Linked DNA regions of Homo sapiens: regions 1, 2, 3 and 5 are each linked to region 4. Evidence: promoter capture Hi-C in 16 types of primary human blood cells and fetal thymus (Javierre and others, 2016). All regions are on one chromosome and are shown on one strand. Each heading gives the region's core, a stretch centred on a gene start or on the middle of the fragment in contact. The rest is flanking DNA. Distances are from core to core; before and after follow the strand shown. Region 1 holds the start of HNRNPL (heterogeneous nuclear ribonucleoprotein L). Region 2 overlaps ACTN4 (actinin alpha 4). Region 3 has its middle 4.3 kb from the start of LGALS7. Region 4 holds the start of GGN (gametogenetin). Region 5 overlaps WDR87 (WD repeat domain 87).

The links. Contacts are between HindIII fragments. The CHiCAGO score rates a contact against its expected background, and 5 or more counts as called.
Region 1: a contact is called between the fragment with the promoter of HNRNPL here and the fragment with the promoter of GGN in region 4, in 7 of 17 cell types (non-activated CD4 T cells, fetal thymus, naive CD4 T cells and 4 more). The highest score is 9.5, in non-activated CD4 T cells.
Region 2: a fragment that was not itself captured here is called in contact with the fragment with the promoter of GGN in region 4 in 1 of 17 cell types (neutrophils); the score reaches 8.6 in neutrophils.
Region 3: a fragment that was not itself captured here is called in contact with the fragment with the promoter of GGN in region 4 in 1 of 17 cell types (non-activated CD4 T cells); the score reaches 6.7 in non-activated CD4 T cells.
Region 5: a fragment that was not itself captured here is called in contact with the fragment with the promoter of GGN in region 4 in 2 of 17 cell types (M2 macrophages and total B cells); the score reaches 6.9 in M2 macrophages.

What each region holds. Positions count from the first base shown.
Region 1 is chr19:38,847,775-38,851,449 of GRCh38, reverse strand. HNRNPL (heterogeneous nuclear ribonucleoprotein L) reads left to right here and starts at 1,464. Exons shown (of 13, transcript NM_001533.3): 1 at 1,464-1,750. The coding sequence starts at 1,484. RefSeq lists enhancers at 687-756, 1,087-1,176, 1,327-2,264, 2,337-2,426, 2,265-3,203 and silencers at 1,327-1,586, 1,597-2,136. The HindIII fragment of the contact is 20,955 bases long and covers 1-3,675 here.
Region 2 is chr19:38,696,449-38,700,220 of GRCh38, reverse strand. The region is part of intron 1 of ACTN4 (actinin alpha 4); the gene reads right to left. Among named protein-coding and RNA genes, the nearest start is that of CAPN12, 46 kb to the left of the region's middle. The HindIII fragment of the contact is 9,950 bases long and covers 1-3,772 here.
Region 3 is chr19:38,776,087-38,779,596 of GRCh38, reverse strand. No RefSeq gene overlaps it. Among named protein-coding and RNA genes, the nearest start is that of LGALS7, 4.3 kb to the right of the region's middle. The HindIII fragment of the contact is 1,173 bases long and covers 1,152-2,324 here.
Region 4 is chr19:38,385,906-38,389,731 of GRCh38, reverse strand. It overlaps GGN (gametogenetin), which reads left to right and starts at 1,698. Exons shown (of 4, transcript NM_152657.4): 1 at 1,698-1,757; 2 at 1,910-1,971; 3 at 2,452-3,826. The coding sequence starts at 2,471. SPRED3 (sprouty related EVH1 domain containing 3) reads right to left here and starts at 1,035. Exons shown (of 6, transcript NM_001394336.1): 1 at 925-1,035. RefSeq lists silencers at 1-203, 1,663-1,902. The HindIII fragment of the contact is 15,577 bases long and covers 1-3,268 here.
Region 5 is chr19:37,893,857-37,897,175 of GRCh38, reverse strand. It overlaps WDR87 (WD repeat domain 87), which reads left to right. Exons shown (of 6, transcript NM_001291088.2): 3 at 868-1,038; 4 at 1,720-3,319. LOC105372395 (a long non-coding RNA gene) reads right to left here. Exons shown (of 5, transcript XR_935962.3): 5 at 503-536. It overlaps LOC107985301 (a long non-coding RNA gene), which reads right to left and starts at 348. Exons shown (of 3, transcript XR_001753935.2): 1 at 321-348. The HindIII fragment of the contact is 3,479 bases long and covers 111-3,319 here.

The DNA.
Region 1 (3,675 bases), core at 215-2,714, 460 kb before region 4:
GCTAAGGTGTTCCCCCCCACACCCTGCGCGGGCAGCCCCATAATGTTAAATGCCGTAGGACGGGATCCCGGGTTAATCCCCGTTTGACCCCGCTGCCTGCGCGTGATAACTGGGGCGCGCTCCTCTCCACCCCCCAGGCTCCGCCAGTTGGGCTTCGCCGGAGTCTGGAGATACCCTCCGACATTCTCTTGGTGCAGTGCGGGTGGTCTTACCCCGCCCTTGAGGAAGAAAGGCCCGACGCAGGCACAGATCACAAGAACGCCTCCCCTGTGCAGGGGGCTTGCACTGTGCCAGGTGCTGTACTGGGCGCTTGGTAGGTGGCCACCCTCTCCAGGGTCGGGGCCAGGACCTCCTGTGGTGCTCAGAGGGGTCGAGCTGTCAGGTGAAAACCACTGGCCCGAGTTATGGCTTTGAAGGGAATCCTGGGGGTCTGGGATGGCAGGGACCTGTTAATTTAGATCGCACGGACAAGATGACTTGGCCCTTAGCTCCTGCAGGAGGGGTAGTGGACTATTGCAGGTGGAAGGGACTGCATGGGCACACATGGAGAGTGCGCGGAAGAGCCTTCTCCCAAGGGAAACTGAAAGGGGTTGCGGCTGAATTTAGAACTGGACAGGGTCCGAAGACAGTCGGCAGCAGCGAGTGGTTTTCTACTGAGGAAAAGGCTCAGATTTGGGATTTTAACAATTCCTCCTAGAGGTAGAAATGAACACGGTATAGTGATGGCGACAGAGATACCCTGGGAGTTCCTGTCAATCTTGGTCTAGCCTTCCGGCGCACACACAGCGGTCGCTCCATAAGGGGGCCCCGCCTCTGGGCGGTGCCTGAAAGCGTATTTGCGCATGCGTTCTCGCCTTCGCTCGTTTCGTATACTGCACCAAAGAGCGCCTACCCTGGGGCGGGGCTCCCCATTTCATCCAATCAGAGCGTATCAACAGTCCTACCATCTGGTGAGAGGGTGCGCTCCACTCTCCATTGACCAATCAGTGGAGACGCAGAAGAATGGGCATCTGTAACCACCACTGGAGAGAGACCAAAAAAGGGCGGGGCTTCCTTGTCTCCTTGCGAAGTGGCGCGGGAAGGTCGTCATTGTGACTGGTGCTGACGGATTAGCGAGGAGACCAATGAAAGTGGGAGGGAGGCGGAGATTCTTGGGAGGTTTAGAGCGCCGTTCCTATCAGGTGCTTTTAGGGAGGCCAGCAGCGCCAGAAATCCGACCTATCAAATTGGATTTTATTTTAAGGCGGCGGGGTCGACGGAAAGACTGGCAGAAAGCGACCACCTATAAGGAGTGTCTCAGACAAACAAGGGCGGGCCCTCCTGCAGAACGGCGTGGGCAATGTCCAATAAGCGCGCAAGGCGTGTGGCGGCCTACCCTCCCCCCGCGGCGGGACCAGTGGCTCCCCCTATCGGGTGGGGGCGGCGGGTGACGGGCGTGTCCCTCCCCCAATGAGAGGCGGGGGGAGGCGGGTTCTGCGCCGCCATGTCGCGGAGGCTGCTGCCCCGGGCGGAGAAGCGGCGTCGGCGGCTGGAGCAGAGGCAGCAGCCGGACGAGCAGCGGAGGCGGTCGGGAGCGATGGTGAAGATGGCGGCGGCGGGCGGCGGAGGCGGCGGTGGCCGCTACTACGGCGGCGGCAGTGAGGGCGGCCGGGCCCCTAAGCGGCTCAAGACTGACAACGCCGGCGACCAGCACGGAGGCGGCGGCGGTGGCGGTGGAGGAGCCGGGGCGGCGGGCGGCGGCGGCGGTGGGGTGAGGCCAGGGCCCTAGGCGCTGGGAAGGCCGGGAACTGGGGGACAATTTCCCAGCTTGAGGGCATTTTATTTTTTGAGGGGGGCCTCTGCGCACGCGCCCAGGCCATCGCGTCGTTGACGGTGTGGGGGAGGGGCGGCCGTTGGGCAAACGGCGGGGTTTGCGCGAGGACAGGCGCCTGCGCGTGCGCGGGGTCCGGAGCGGGGTGTGGGGGAGCGCAGAGGAAGTAGCTCGTGAGGCGAATGGCCCAGTGCGCAGGCGCCGCGGGCTGGCGTGTGGGGGCCGGGCACGCGGCCCGGCCGGTTTTTTTCCCCTTTATCATTTTCTTCGCTGGCTCCATGCGCAGGCGCAGTGTTCCCGCCCGGCCTCGTGGGCGGTTAGGGGAGCGCCTGGTGAGCGGGAACGGGTGGGCGGCGGCCTTGTTCTCTAGAGTGGGGAATTCCGTCTGATGGCAGCTTAATCTCTAAGGCCCAGCCTTGTGTCTATACAGAAATGGATGTGTTTGAGCCTAGATGCTCTCATTTTTGTAGGCATTGAAAATGGGAAGAGGACTTGTGAAATGCACTTTTAGCCTTTTAGGAGTTGAGCGAAGCCTTGAAACCATCACAAGTTTGCTTACAGTTTCCGGGGATTCACTGGGTACCGAGGATTTGATAAACCAAACTATTTCCTGGCCATGTTGGAAGCATTTCGACCCCCTGTAATCAGTCCCTCCGAAAACACCAGTCGTTGCTTTTGGAGTGGGGCCCAGTCCCCACTCTTTCCAAAATCTTGAAGTCTTACAGGGCCGCCTATTTGCAGGGTTTTCCAGGGTTTAGGGGTTACGAGTTGCTAGCGTTTTAATCTTGGCCTTGTCCCACACATTTTAAAGACATCTTAATTGAAAATCCTTAACGCTTCCTGAGGTTGGGGGAGATACTGGGATTCCCGATTTACAAAGGAGGAAATGGGCCAGGAGAGAGATGAGATGAGGTGAATTACTGTAGGTGGCACAGCTAGTGAGGGGCAGGGCTGGAGTTAGAACTCCCATTTGTGGGAGCTGCTAACCTGGCGGGAGTGCCTCACCCTGTGGTTCGCGTGGATCGCTCCTGAAATAGAATCCAATTCTACCCACCTTCCACGCACTTCTGCCCAGTGATTCTCAGACAGGGGGCCGGCCCCAGAGCCCAGGAGAGGCGGAAGAGAGTTAATCTTTCTCCTGATGACCAGAGGCTTTTGTCGGTGGGTGTAAGATACTTCTCTTAGGAAGGAGCAGTCGGTTCTTAATGGTATGGGTTGGAGTCTCTGGTCTTTCTAAAAGACTTTCCATCCGGGAGTGGGGGCTCATGCCTATAATCCCAGCACTTTGGGAGGCTGAGGCAGGCAGATTACCTGAGGTCAGGAGTTCGAGAACAGCCTGGTCAACATGGCAAAACTCCGTCTCTACTAAAAATACAAAAAAATTAGCCAGGTGTGGTGGCGAGGGCCTGTAATTCCAGCTACTCGGGAGGCTGAGGCAGGAGAATCGCTTGAACCTGGGAGGCGGAGGTTGCAGTGGACTAAGATCACGCCATAGCACTCCAGCCTGGGTGACAGAGTGAGACTCCATCTCAAAAAATAAATAAAAGACTTTTCTTGTCTGGTTTTTCTTAGTCTGACCTAGGCAGTAATTTCCAAAGCAGATTTTGGTGGGAGGGCGATTCAAGACTAGAAGGGGTCAAGACTGGCCTGGCTGCCCCAGTTTCTGGGGCATGTGTTGTTTTTTGCCCTGACTGAACCTGGGTGTGAGTGGTGGGGAACAGGTGTGCTTAGCTAGATGATGGTGGCTCAGCCAGTTAAAGGGCAAGGAATTTGGGGCACATGCAAAGGGGATGTCCTCATTCAAACTGTAGCAGATAGCTGTTAGAGCCCTTGCTGCCAGTGTATCTCCTTTTCCAGCTACTCTT
Region 2 (3,772 bases), core at 89-2,588, 310 kb before region 4:
CAGTCACACAAACATGACTGAGCACCAGGCTCGGTGGTGTGGAATGAACAGGTCGGGCTCCTGCCCTCATGGGGCTTGTTTTCTTGATGAAGGCCAGCCCTTCATCTGCCAGCTAGACCCAAAGGCCCCAGCTGGACCCTGGCTTCCGTGACCCGTGGCTGCTCTCCTCAGGCAGGAGCTCAGGCTGCTACGTTCCAATCACGTGCACAGATACAACCCAGAACAGGAAAGTGGCAGGAAAAGAAAAGCTCCCATAAATGCAGGATTTCCTCGAGTCTCTCTTTGAGCTTTGGGCAGCCCAAGAGCAAGCCCTCCCAGGAAAGGCCAGGAACACAGACCCTCTGAGCCCTGCACACACGCCTGTGTCGCCTGGCTTCCTGCAAGCAAGATGCCCCCGTCCCTCTGTCTCCTGGAGAACATGCCATGCCCTATCCTTCCTATTCTTTTTTTTCCTTTTTTTTTTTTTGAGAAGGAGTCTCGCTCTGTCACCCAGGCTGGAGTGCTGTGGCGCAATCTCAGCTCACTGCAATCTCTACCTCCTGGGTTCAAGCGATTCTCATGCCTCAGCCTCCTGAGTAGCTGGGACTACGGGTGTATGCCAACATGCCCATCTAATTTTTGTCTTTTTAGTAGAGATGGGGTTTTACCATGTTGGCCAGGCTGGTCTTGAACTCCTGGCCTCAAGTGATCTACCCGCCTCGGTCTCCCAAACTGCTGGGATTACAGGCGTGAGCCACCACACCCAGCCCTATCCTTCCTATTTTTAAGACTCAGTGCAGCTTAGAGGAGGCTGGAAGGCAAGTGGGAGGCAGGCCCCCTCACCGGGGTCAGGCAGCCGCATCTAAGGAGAATGTTTCTGATGATCAACTGGAAGGGATGGAGGGTACTAAACAAGAAGCCGAAGTCCCTGACCCTAACAGACCAACGATGCTGACAGGGCATGGGTACACCCAAGCACAGGGCACGCAGCCTCCTGGTGGTGCCCGGCTACTCAGCCCCCTGCAAGCTGGGGCATGCTCATAGACATCAGGGCCACAGAAGATCTCAGATCAGTTAACACCAACACGCCCAGGCGCCTTCAGGGAAACCAGCCCACGCACCCTCCTGCAACAGGACCTGGGAAAAACCCCAAGTGTCTGCTTCTTATAGGAACCCCTGTACCCCACCCCCTCCATCTGCAGGGGCCAGTGTAGAAGCAAGCAGACAGCCAGGGACACACAAGAGCACATTCCACGCCCCGGGTGCAGGCGGAGGCCATGCGGAGGACAAGGGGCTTCTACGGGGGCTCTGACCAAGCACCATGTGTTTTGACAACTGTCGCCAGCCCTGCTCATTCAGGGAGACTCGACACAAAGCCCCCTCCCAGACAAAGCAGCTGCCTAATTAATACGCCATACCAGTGTGGACCCAGCATGGGGCTTCCTTCCAAATCCGAAAGGGGGCAAGAGTGGACAGCTAGACCATCCCCCACCACCACCTCTCACCATGGAGAATTCCTCTACCTGGGAGACAGAGACCCCTCCTGGTGGCACAACGCTGTTCCCCCACTAAAGATACCTCCGCCCCGCCATGTAGCCAACCCTGGGCACCCCTCAAAAGTCAGGCCAAATGCCGTGCCTGGAGGGTACCCGCACCATGGCCTCCCTGACCCGGTTCTGCCTCAGACAGCCTCCTCCCTGCAGACCACATCACGCCCTTGCTCTCTGGTCTCTAACAGTTCTTGTCTCCAACAGTTCTTGTCTCCCTCCCTCCCACGGCTATGAACTCCTTGAGGGGAGGGGAGCCAAGGCAGGTTCTCACTGCGGAGAGTACTAACTCACCTTCCCAGCCTCCCCCATACAATACTGAATTCAGAGAGCCCAGGGCGGGAACCATGCTTACACCACTCATGTGGGCACGTCACCTAACCTTCCTAACTTCCATTTCCTCCTCTGCAACGTGGGGATGAAGACCCCACCTAGGCCACGGGCAGTGTGAGGACTCAAGATGGCCATGCCTGCAGCGTGCATGGCAATGCTCAGGAAGTGGCAGCTCTCTGGATGGCCCTGTGCCTCCCAGCATCTCCTCCCTCCCTGCCCTGGTCTCAGGAGTCCTGCCCACCCCCTCCACAGTGTGCCTGCTCTGTCCCCGGCCCACCCTCAGCACCTCTCCCGTAGCAACCCCCAGTCACTTTTAGTCTTATTGGATGTTGCATGCACATGAGCTTTCTCTCCTACCATGTGCGAGCTCCAGGGGTTGGGAAGTACGGCGCCTGCACCTTTACAGCCCCAGAGCACTGCCAGCCTTGATGGCAGGCAGCAAGCAGGCGTGGAGCCCAGGAGCCCAGCAGCCCTGCAGAGCAAAGGGCAGCAGCAAATGGGCTGGGAAGGAAGTGGCCACGGATGCTAGGCCTCTACTCTCACATGTGCCTGAGAGCAGGCACTGCTGGGCAGCAAAGTAGCCAAGACACATCCCACAGCCTGAGGACAAAAGAGGGCTGTTCCCCGAGGGCAAGGCCCCGTGCTCTGGTGTTGCCAGGCCCAGACCTAGGCACCTGGGCTGCAGGGAGGGCCACGCACGCGTGCAAACAGCACCCCTCACAGCCTTGGCCTGTGTGGGCTGCTCCTGCAGGCTCTGCAGGGGCACAGACCTGGGTTTGGGTTTGAATACCTGCCCCTTGGCTTACTCATTCCATGTTTTCAACCAAGTGACTTTACCTACTTAAGTCTGTTTCCTTCCCTGTAAGATGGATTTATCAGAATCTACCTCCTGCAGTGTGCTCTAAGAATTAAACTAGGGAAAATACATTTAAAGCATGTGACAGGCTCCTTGGCATAAAGTAAGAGCCAGATGAATCACACGCATGTGTGTGCATGTACACACGCACATAAGCACGTGCTGAGATCCAGTCTCTTCTCTGCAAAGGCTCTCAGACCACCCACTGGTATGCAGGGAAAATGGGATGGCAGGAGACCCTCTGCGGATGGCCCCACCCCACCCTGTGGAGGCTGTGAACAAACCTCGCCGCTTGGGTTCTGGCCACCTGTCCTCAGAGGGGCTGCTGCCCTACCCGCCCTCCATACGTACATCCCACCTGTGCTCATCTTCTCTGGGTAGTAAACAAGAGCTCTGGCTTGGGCATCACACAGGTGCGGATTCACATCTTGCTTCTGCCACTGAGGCCTCAGGCAAGCAATAAGCCTCAGTTTCCTCACTGATAAACAGGACAGTAACCGAGAGGTTAAGATAGGGATTAAACACAAGGACACATGTCAATCACTCCGTGCTGTGTTAAATGCATGTCAAAGGAAGGTTTGCTCTGAAAGCAATGGTAACTCTTCCGTGTACTCTGTCTTCCTGACTGACACAGGCAAAGCCCCAAGCACAGGTGCTCAGGGAGGATGCCCACTCGCCTGGCCTGGATGACGCAGAAGGGAACTCCCACCCAGATCCGGACCTGACACAGGCTTGGGGAACCCCACTGATGCACTCCTGTTCTCACCCCATGTCTTGCTTTGCCCTGTTTTGTCCTCCTGGAAGATGAGGGGCATCTATTGACATCAGAGGTTCACAAAGCCCTCAGCTCTGGTGAGGAGAGCCTGCACTCACAAGGCCACCCTTGGGAACAGGTCGACCATGACGGCCACTTCTCCATGCGGAGAGACTGGTGAGTAGGAGCTGGAGTTCGAATGGGACATTAAAAATTCATCGCTTCTTCTACTTGGTTACAAAAATAACACTCTGCTTCCATCCTTCCTCTCCCTACCCGGTTTAGACTACGCTGCGTGGGGTG
Region 3 (3,510 bases), core at 489-2,988, 390 kb before region 4:
TTGCACTCTGTCTAAAAAACAAACAAACAAAAACAAACAAACAAAAAAAAACTGGTATAAGAAGGCTCACGCCTGTAATCCCAGCATTTCGAGAGGCCGAGGCAGGTGGATCACCTGAGGTCAGGAGTTCAAGACCAGCCTGGCCAACATGGTGAAACCCCCGTCTCTACTAAAAATACAAAAAGTAGCCAGGCGCAGTGACACATGCCTGTAGTCCCAGCCACTCGGGAGGCTGAGGTGGGAGAATTGCTTGAACCTGGGAGGCGGAAGTTGCAGTGAGCCGAGATCACACCATTGCACTCCAGCCTGGTGGCAGAGAAGACTCTGTCTAAATAAATAAATAAATATGTTAAATTAAATAAAAATAAAAAGAGTCCAAACCTGCCCCACCAAATAACCCAATCCTCAAACCATTAGCTCACGCTAATGCCTCCACTTCCAGTCCAGCTCCACAGGGCTGGTGCCTACCTCTCCCTTTCCATATCTGTAACTCCCTCCCAGAAAAAAAAAGCAGTTCCAGTCCTCATCTCTGACTCCCACATGGCACCTCCCCCCGAGGCTGGTTCCAATGCCCCTCGTCGGGCACCCACCCCACACAGGTGTCCTCCTCCCATGCTGGGAGTGCAGGCTCCCTGTCACGTGTCCTGCTGGCCCTCACTGGGCACTTACGCGCAGCCTCTGCTGAGCGCTCCTCATCCTGCTCAGCCCTGACCCCCAAACACCTCTCCCAAGGACATCCCACCCCAATCAGCCCATTCAGGGCCACCATGACCTTGCTCAGCCCCACATAATAGCTTTAGGGCCCAATTGTTCAGCAAAGGAAGGAAAGGAAGGAAAGGAAGGAAAGGAAGGAAGAAGAAAAAGCTATGCATGTATTTTACTGTTTAAGCATTGAAATGTACAAGAATCACTAGGAAACTTACAAGAATTACTTGGATGAGTTTATAGAGCAATTGAAACACTGAAAAATGAATAACCTCTAAAATTATGCATTCAGTTTAAAATATTTAAGAGAGTTTAATTAACTAAGTTTATAAATGGAACTGAACACTAGAGAATAGACTTTTTCTTAGCGGTAATTGGATTGTTTTATTAATATTTACTATATTTATAAAAATAGAGTCGTGAGATTTCCAATGGGCATAAAAGCTTAAGAACAAAGTGAGTTTCTGGGGTTTTTTTGTTTTTGTTTTTGTTTTTTTGTTTGGTCTTTTTTTGATGGAGTCTTGCTCTGTCGCCCAGGCTCAAGTGCAGTGGTGCGATCACACACCACAACCTCCGTCTCCCGGGTTCAGGTGATTCTCCTGCTTCAGCCTCCCAAGTAGCTAGGATCACAGGTGTGTGCCACCACACCCAGCTAATATAGATATATATAATTTTTTGGTATTTTTAGTAGAGGCAGGGTTTCACTATGTTGGCCAGGCTGGTCTCAAATTCCTGACCTCAGGTGATCCACCGCCTTGGCCTCCCAAGGTGCTGGGATTACAGGGTGAACCACTGCGCCTGGCCAAGAACAAAGTGAGATTTCTTTCCTTTTTTTTTTTTTTTTTGAGAGGAAGTCTCGATCTTGTCCCCCAGGCTGGAGTGCAATGGCGTGATCTTGGCTCACTGCAACCTCTGCCTCCCAGGTTCAAGCGATTCTCCTGCCTCAGCCCCCCAAGTAGCTGGCATTACAGGTGCCTGCCACCATGCCCGGCTAATTTTTTCTATTTTTAGTAGAGACGGGGTTTCACCCTATTGGCCAGGCTGGTCTCGAACTCCTGACCTCAGGTGATCCGCCCGCCTCGGCCTCCCAAAGTGTTGGGATTATAGGCATGAGCCACCGTGCCCAGCCAAAGTGAGATTTCTAAGTGTCATTTTCATCATCAGAATGTTGATTTACAAAAAGCAGCCCCAGAATTACCTTCACTGTGTATAAAAAATAACCAAAATGTGACCAACAAATGACATTCATGGAGCCTGAATTTTAAATCTCTACAACCACCTAGTGTGCAATTAGCTACTTTTCATCTAAATTATTTCCTAAAAGAGGCATAAAGTAAGAAAAATCAGTCTACTCCCTCTTCTTTATTTTGAGACAAAAGAACCTCGGTGGCTAGTCAATGCTCAGCAGTGGCCAGGCCCAGTGGCTCATGCCTGTAATCCCAGCACTTTGGGAGGCTAAGGCAGGCAGATCGCTTGACTCCAGGAGTTCAACACCAGCCTAGGCAACATCGTAAAACCCTCTCTCTACAAAAAATACACAATTAGCCAGGCATGGTGGCGTGTGTCTGTAGCCCCAGCTACTCGGGAGGCTGAGGTGGTGAGCCCAGGAGGTTTAAGCTTGGAAGATTGAGGCTGCAGTGAGCGGAGACTGCACCACTGCACTCCAGCCTGGGTGACAGAGTGAGACCCCCATCTCAAAAACAAAACAAAACAAAACAAAACAAAAAAATGGTCAGGAGTGACACTGGCCAGTGGCTTCCTGGAACTAGAAGAGAGGCCACTATTTCCTGGACACCAGGAAACTTAATTGAGGAGGTGGTTAGATAGGTCTCCACAGTTCTCAAAATCAGTGAACTATACCTTTAATATCTGCATCTTTTATTTTATGGGAAGGATACCTTGATAGAAAGACTATTGAGAAATATATACATTTATTATTATTATTATTATTATTATTATTATTATATATACTTTTTGAGACAGAGTCTTGTTCTTTTTGCCCAGGCTAAAGCGCAATGGAGCTATCTTGGCTCACTACAATTTCTGCCTCCTGGGTTCAAGCAATTCTCCTGCCTCGGCCTCTCGAGTAGCTGGGAATGCAGGTGTGCACCACCACACCCGGCCTACATTAACTATTTAAAATTGAAAAAAGGTGACCAGGTGCGTTGGTTCACACTTGCAATCACAGCACTTTGGGAGGCTGAGGCAGGTGGATCACCTGAGGTCAGGAGTTCAAGGCCAGTCTGGCCAACATGGTGAAACCCCGTCTCTACTAAAAATACAAAAAGTAGCCAGGCGTGGTGGCAGGCACCTGAAATCCCAGCTACTTGGGAGGCTGAGGCAGGAGAATCACTTGAACCTGGAAGGCAGAGGTTGCAGTGAGCCAAGATCAAACCACTGCACTCCTGCCTGGGCAACAGAGCGAGACTCTGTCTCAAAAAACGAGAAAGAAAAAGAAAAAAGGCTCACGAAAATATTATTTCAGGCCAGGCGCAGTGGCTCACACCTGTAATCCCAACACTTTGGGAGGCCGAGGAGGGCAGATCACGAGGTCAGGAGTTCGAGACCAGCCTGACCAACATGGCGAAACCCTGTCTCTACTAAAAATACAAAAATTAGGCCAGGCGCGGTGGCTTATGCCTGTAATCCCAGCACTTTGGGAGGCCGAGGCGGGCGGATCATGAGGTCAGGAGACCGAGACCATCCTGGCTAATACAGTGAAACCCCGTCTCTACCAAAAATGCAAAAAATTAGCTGGGCGTGGTGGCGGGAGCCTGTAGTCCCAGCTACTCAGGAGGCTGAGGC
Region 4 (3,826 bases), core at 449-2,948:
ACCCAGCAACGGGAGATGGGCAGGGAACAGGGAGAGAACCAGAAATGGCCAGAAAGAGAGGCTCAGAGGGAGACGGAGGCAGAGGAAGTCAGAAACGGGCGACCGAAGACACATCCAGAGAGCATTTCATTCACAAAAATCAAGGCTGCTCCCCCAGGCCCCAGCCGAGGGAAGCCAGGGGGGAAAGATGGGATGGGGGGGCAGATTGATCCTTCCTCCCTCTTCCCTTCCCGCCCCCCAGCCCCAGCATCCTTCAGAACCATTTTACCCCGCCCCCCAGCTCAGAGGACGTAGCCCTCCGCCCAGTAATCGGGATCAGTGTCCAGCCCTTCACTGCCATCCAGCACAGGGACCCTGGCGTCCCAACCTTAGGGACCCGGACGAGCTCTAGCCCCCTCCCCCACCTGCAGGCTGCTGGGTTTCCCGGGCCCTTCAGGAGGGGAAGGGGCGGCTGCAGCGCCCCCAGCCCCCTTTTCTCAATGGGATGGGATTTTGTGAATGAGCAGTCACGTGACGCTGCTTCCTTTGTCCGCCCGCCTCCCCCGACAACAGGTGAAGCAGGGAATGAGAGCAGGGGTCCCCCCAGGGCCTAGCTGGAATGGGGCACTGGCATTTCAGGGTGGCCTACGCTCCCCACACATCCTGTGTCCCCCGGGGGGAGTGGTCCTCAGCGTTCCTCAACGGTGAGGGTCCAGGACGGAATTTTGTGAATGGGGCATCCTCGGAGAAAGTCCAGACCCCACAAATGAAGACTGGTACCCTGAATGGCTGCCGCGCAGTTTGGGGGGTCCCCACTCTCTAGTCCTCCTAGCCGGGGCCTTGGGGGCGCCTGGGTGGGCAGAAGGCGCAGCGCGGTCACGGCCGCCCCCTCATCGGGGCAGGCAGTCTGTCAGCCCCCGCCCCCTCGCCCCCCTCGGCACCTGCCTGCGAGGCTCCGGCCGGGCTCCGAGCGGCGGCGACGCGGCCTCCTCCTCCTCCTTTTCGTTCCGGCTCCCTGGCTGGCTCCGGCGGCGCTGGAGACGGGCACCGGGAGCCGGGGCGAGGGGGGAGGGAGGGGGAACCTGGAAGACGGGTGGGGGGGGAAGGGGCGGCTTGGGGGAGGGGTAAGAGCGAGGCGGGCTTACTTGCCTGCTGGGTCCTAGAGCCCGGCACTAGCTCCAGAGAGCAACCCCCCAGCCCCCATTTTCTTAAGATCCAGAGGGGATCCCCCACTTTTCCACCCATCTGCGCCATTGGTCTCTAATGCTATGAGGAGGGGACGGGGCAGGGACAGGGACTGGTCTCAAGGTTCTAAAGAGGTGGTGGTCTACGCTGTGGCTTGGGTGCCTGGCAGAGTTCGATAAGGGGTGGGGCGAGAGGGGAGCCTTCACAAGTGGGTGGGGTTGGAGGGCCTGGGTATAAGGAGGTTTGGATGCTGCAGGCGAGGACTAGTGCGTGCGTCACGAAGGGGCGGGCCCACGGTGGATGGGCCTTCTCGGCGCCCGGGGGGAAGGAGAGGGTCTTGAGAAGCGATGTTGCCGGGTCTTAAAAAGGCGGAGCTTAGAGGTAAATTGCCTTAGGGGCGGGGCAGATGAGAGGTCCAAAGGGGAGGAGCGACGCATCGGTGTTCGCGTGGGCGGGGCCTCGGGAGGGAATGAGAGGGGCGGGACATTCTAAAGGGGAGGGGCTAAGGAGAACAACCCAAAGGGGTGGAGCTTAGAACCAGAAGGCCTGGGGGCGAGGAACAAGACCTCGGAGTATTTCAAGGGGAGACCTAGGTTCGTAAGGGGCCGGGCTCCCGCGGGCTCGCAGGAGGGCGGGGCCTCGAGCTCCGGGGGCGGGGCCTACATCTCGGGGTCCGCCCTAGTTGTCTCGCCCACTTGCCTTCACCCGCACCCCCGTTCTTTTCGGTTATTTTCTGCTACGGCAGTTCCCTGCCCTGCCCCGGGCCCAGGGCGCCGCGGTCTGAACTCTGCTCGGCTGGAGGACTCGGTGAGTGGGTTCCTCTGGGGGGAGGCGGGGCCAGGGCGGAGCTTGGGGACAGGGGTGGAGCTTGACTGTGGATGCCAGCTAGTAGACCTGGAGCGGGAAGAGGTTTAGGGGTGAGGCCTGAGGATCTGCCCCTGCCTGGGAAGAGGGCGGGACCCAGGTGCTCTAGAGAGAGGCGGGGAGTCGGAGAGTTAGAGGAGAGGACTGAGGGATCAGCATGACCAGCCAAGGGGACAGGCATGGAACCTTAGTACATAATGGGGCTGGTAGTGAAGTATCTTAACAGCAGCTGTGTTGGGGACATGGGCAAGAAGGCGTGAGTGTCGAAGGTCGGGGAACAGGAGTGCGACCTAAGGACTTGGGCCTGATCGGATCTTGGAGAACAGGGGCGGGGCCGGTGCGGACGCATTAGATCAAGTACAGCCAGCCTCGTAGGGTCCCCACGGCCCTGGCAGGCTGACTGGAGTAAATTTTTCTGACTAGTCTCCGAGCTCCGTCAGAAATGGGGAACTTGCAGTCGGAGCCATCCGCGGGCGGGGGCTCCCGAAAAGTGCAGCCCTCGGACCGCGCCCCCGACTCCCGCCGGACGTCCCTGGTGGAGCCCGAGATGACCTCCCAGGCCATGCGCCTGACTCGTGGGCTGGGTGTCTGGTTCCCTGGCAGCGCCACACCCCCGGGACTCATGGTACCCCGGGAGCCCCAGGCCTCACCCTCGACCCTGCCCCTCACCTTAGAACGGCCCTCTCCAGTGATGCCCCCTCCTGAAGAGGCGGCCGCGGTCTCTGCACCACCCCCGGCCCCCGCGGGGACTCTGCTGCCCGGCCCGTCTAAATGGCAAAAGCCCGCGGGCACTCCAGTTCCCCGGATCCGCCGCCTGCTGGAGGCGAGCCATCGCGGCCAGGGCGACCCTCCGAGCCTCCGCCCGCTGAAGCCGCCGCCGCCGCCCCGGCAACTATCCGTGAAGGACACTGTCCCGAGGGCCCCATCCCAATTTCCGCCGCCCCTGGAGACTTGGAAGCCGCCACCACCATTACCTTCTGAACGGCAGCCGGCGGACCGCAGAATCACTCCTGCTCTGGCCACACCCGCCTCACCCCCGACAGAAAGCCAGGCTGGGCCCCGCAACCAGGGCCAGACGGCCGGCAGGGCTCGCGGAGGGGCGCCTCCCCATGCGGGCGAAGGCGAAATGGCCCAGCCTGCGGATTCCGAGTCCGGTCTGAGCCTGCTGTGTAAAATCACCTTCAAGTCGAGGCCCTCTTTGGCCCCTCCGGCAGCCTCGAGTTCCTTAGCAGCCAAAGCTTCGCTGGGGGGCGGCGGAGGCGGCGGCCTCTTTGCTGCCTCAGGTGCCATCTCTTACGCCGAGGTCCTGAAGCAAGGGCCCCTGCCTCCTGGAGCCGCTCGCCCCTTGGGAGAGGTTTCTCGAGGGGCACAGGAAGCCGAGGGAGGTGATGGAGACGGCGAAGGGTGCTCTGGTCCTCCCTCGGCGCCTGCGTCCCAAGCCCGGGCCCTACCGCCGCCACCCTACACCACCTTCCCAGGCTCGAAGCCCAAATTCGACTGGGTTAGCGCTCCCGACGGCCCTGAACGCCACTTCCGCTTCAACGGGGCTGGCGGAGGCATCGGGGCGCCGCGACGGCGTGCGGCCGCACTCTCTGGGCCTTGGGGCTCCCCTCCGCCACCACCAGAGCAGATACACTCAGCTCCCGGGCCCCGGAGGCCCGCACCTGCCCTGCTGGCGCCGCCTACGTTCATCTTCCCAGCACCCACCAATGGCGAGCCCATGCGCCCGGGGCCTCCAGGCCTGCAGGAGTTACCACCGCTGCCACCGCCCACACCGCCGCCCACACTGCAGCCACCA
Region 5 (3,319 bases), core at 601-3,100, 490 kb after region 4:
ATGGTCTATCACCATGGGATAATATATATATTGTATAAATGCTTGTCCTCTGTCAAATTTAAAGGCCAGATAGGGTGTCCCAAGAGTCTCACTTAGTGCAGCTTTAAGCTTCAGTAACTTAGAGCTGCACTGACTTTGGGAGATTCCGCTATATTCCATGTGTGCGTAAGGTGATGTACTTGCCTGACTATTCTGTTAAATATTGTGTCTTTTATGGTACATGTACCTTCTACACACAAGCGAGAATGTTAGAGGGGGCTGGACTCAGTAGCTCATGCCTGTAATCCCAGCACTTTGGGAGGCCGAGGCGGGCGGATTACCTGAGGTCTGGAGTTCAAGACCAGCGTGGCCAACATGGTGAAACTCCATCTCCACTAAAAATACAAAAAATTAGCAGGGCCTGGTGGCATGTGCCTGTAGTCCCAGCTACTTGAGAGGCTGAAGCAGGAGAATCGCTTGAACCTGGGAGGTAGAGGTTGCAGTGAGCTGAGATCACGCTACTGCATTCCAGCCTGGGCAACAGAAAGAGACTCCATCTAAAAAACAAAACAAAAAAAAGAATGTTAGAGGGCAGGCATGGCTAACTTCATGTTGAAAAGAACATCATTTTTCCCTGTGTTCACACTATGAAATTTGCACACAGAGACTCTGCAGGGTTGTGTTCCCTCATGCATTGGGGGATTTGTTACATGCTTGTGAAGTATAGCTGTGCCACAGGTGATAAGTTATGCACGTGTGAGTGTAACAGGAGTAGGTCCTTCGGGTGGGAAGCATGACTTTGGGAACTGCTCCAACTGTGACTTGTGCGAGAATATATTTAGTGCCTCTGTGCCCTGGCCTCTTAGTTTATGCCACGCCTCTCTCCAGCAACCTTCGGAAGACCCAAAGAACTGCCTGATTGTGCTGAGTGACCGGTCCCAGGTACTGTTCAAAGAGTCTCGCTATCCTCAAAATATGCCGTGTGTATGCTATTACTTCAGTGATGCCCACTTCTTCGCCTCCCTCTCTTGGGTGACATCAAACACAAAAGAAATACAAGTAAGACTGCCTTTCTTACCCTTCTTGGCCCATTCTCCAAGAGCCATGCCCATATAACTGTTAGCCCAGATTGACAAAGGAGGATATTCCCCATGGATGAATGTGGTCTGGAACCAGAAATCTCTCCTCATCCTTTCTCCAATTATAGTCCCCATGTTGAGTAGGTTGTATGGTTCCCCCGAAGTAAACCAAGGTTAGGAAAAGGGTCCTAGGATTCCTGCCTCTACCGTATTTCCAATTCCCATCACCAAGGGATAAAATCACTTGAGTCCTCCAATTCCTCCTTAACATAAAACATGGGGAAATAAGGGAATATTCTGCCCTACCATCAGCTCTAGGCAGTTTCATCTTTTTTTTTTTTTTTTTTTTTTGAGACAGAGTCTCGCTCTGTCACGCAGGCTGGAGTGCAGTGGCGCAATCTTGGCTCACTGCAGCCTTTGCCTCCCAAATTCAAGCGATTCTCCTGCCTCAGCCTCTCGAGTAGCTGGGATTACAGGCACCGACACCACACCCAGCTAATTTTTGTATTTTTAGTAGAGATGGGGTTTCACCATGTTGGCCAGGCTGCTCTCGAACTCCTGACCTCAGGTGATCCACCCGCCTCGGCCTCCCAAAGTGCTGGGATTACAGGCATGAACCACCTCACCCGGCCTAGGCAGTTTCCTTCTTATTCTCTTCTAGGCTGTAGCATGGATGAAGAGCAAAACTGAGGACATGGTTGAGAAAAGAACATTCTCCATGACTGAACGATTGCCACCCATCCAGTCCATGGTCCATGCAGGCTCCTTTCATATCCTCGTGGTCTACTGTGGTGACCTGATCCTGCGACTCTTTGGGGACCACTTTCGGGCATTCAAACCCCTGGGTAAAGTGCCCTGCCGCTTCAACATCAGCTGCCTCTGCTATGACCCGGAAATGAAGATGCTTCTGTCTGGCATCCTGGGGGCAGTGGTGACCTGGGTCATTGAGCTAGGTGGCACGGGCCTCCAAATAGCCCACATGGTCTCCATGCCAGGTGATGAGCTTGTCCAGGACATCGTGCTGAATGGTCCCAGTGGCTCCCTCCTGGCCCTGTGTGAGACGGTGGTGAGGGTCCTTATGCACCAGGGCAAGGGCCAGCTGGGAGAGGTAAAGAGGTTCACGTCCACCAGCAGCGGCTCCTCCATCACCTGCTGCTTCACCTGTTTTGATCAGGGCTTTCTCTATGCTGGAAACCAAGCTGGGGAAATCCAAGTTTGGAGCCTCCAGCAGGGCCATCCACTCCACAGTTTCCAGGCCCATCAATCAGGAGTGATCTGTATCCGCAGCCGACCAGAGGCCCACACCCTGCTAACAGCTGGTAGTGACAGCCTAATCAAGGAGTGGAACCTGACTTCAGGGAGCCTGCTTCGGCGGCTAGAGCTTGGTGAGGAGCTATACCGGCTCCAGTTTATTGACAGCATTACTTTCTTCTGCCAAACTGCCCATAGTTTTTCCTTGCACCGCCTGCCCTGCTTCTACAGCCTCTTCAATGTCTGTGGCTCTGCTCCCCAGCAGTTGCGTCGGGTCTGCTGTGGAAATAACTGGTTCCGGATCCTGTGTACCACTGAGGATGGCTTGTTGCGCTTTGTGTCCCCAGTAACAGGGGACCTTCTGGTTATCACCTGGCCCTTCTCAATCCTGGACCAGGCTGTGGATTGGGCCTACGACCCAGGTAAAGAGGAGCTCTTTGTAGCAACAGGCAGCTCAGAGGTTCTGGTATTTGACACAACCCGCTGCCCTTGCCCAGCCAAGTATCTCTTAGGCACCTCACCAAATTCTCAGGACTTTGTACAATGCCTGGCTTATGGGCATTTCAACTTGGGGCGGGGTCTAGAGGGACTGATATTCTCTGGGCACCAGAGTGGTGTGATAAGAGTGCTCTCCCAGCACAGCTGTGCTCGATTAGAAAAATTCATGCACTTTGGCGCTGTACTGGCACTCTCCACGCTGTCTGGAGGGATTTTTGGTGGCCAAGGAAACTCTCTGCTCTGTTCCTATGGAATGGATGACTATGTGCACCTGTCAGAAGCTGTGCTTGATGGGGTCAAAGTACAACTGCGGCCTCTCGCCAGCATTCTCAGCAGCTGTCACCTAACACATCTGATACTCTTGCCCAAGTCTGTGGGTGCCATCACAGAGACAAACTGCCTGCGTCTCTGGAAGTTCCATGATTTTCTGTCCTCTGGGTCACAGAATGGCTTGAAATTCATAGAAACACTGCCTCTGCACCTGTGTGCCATCACATCCTTTGATGTCTGCC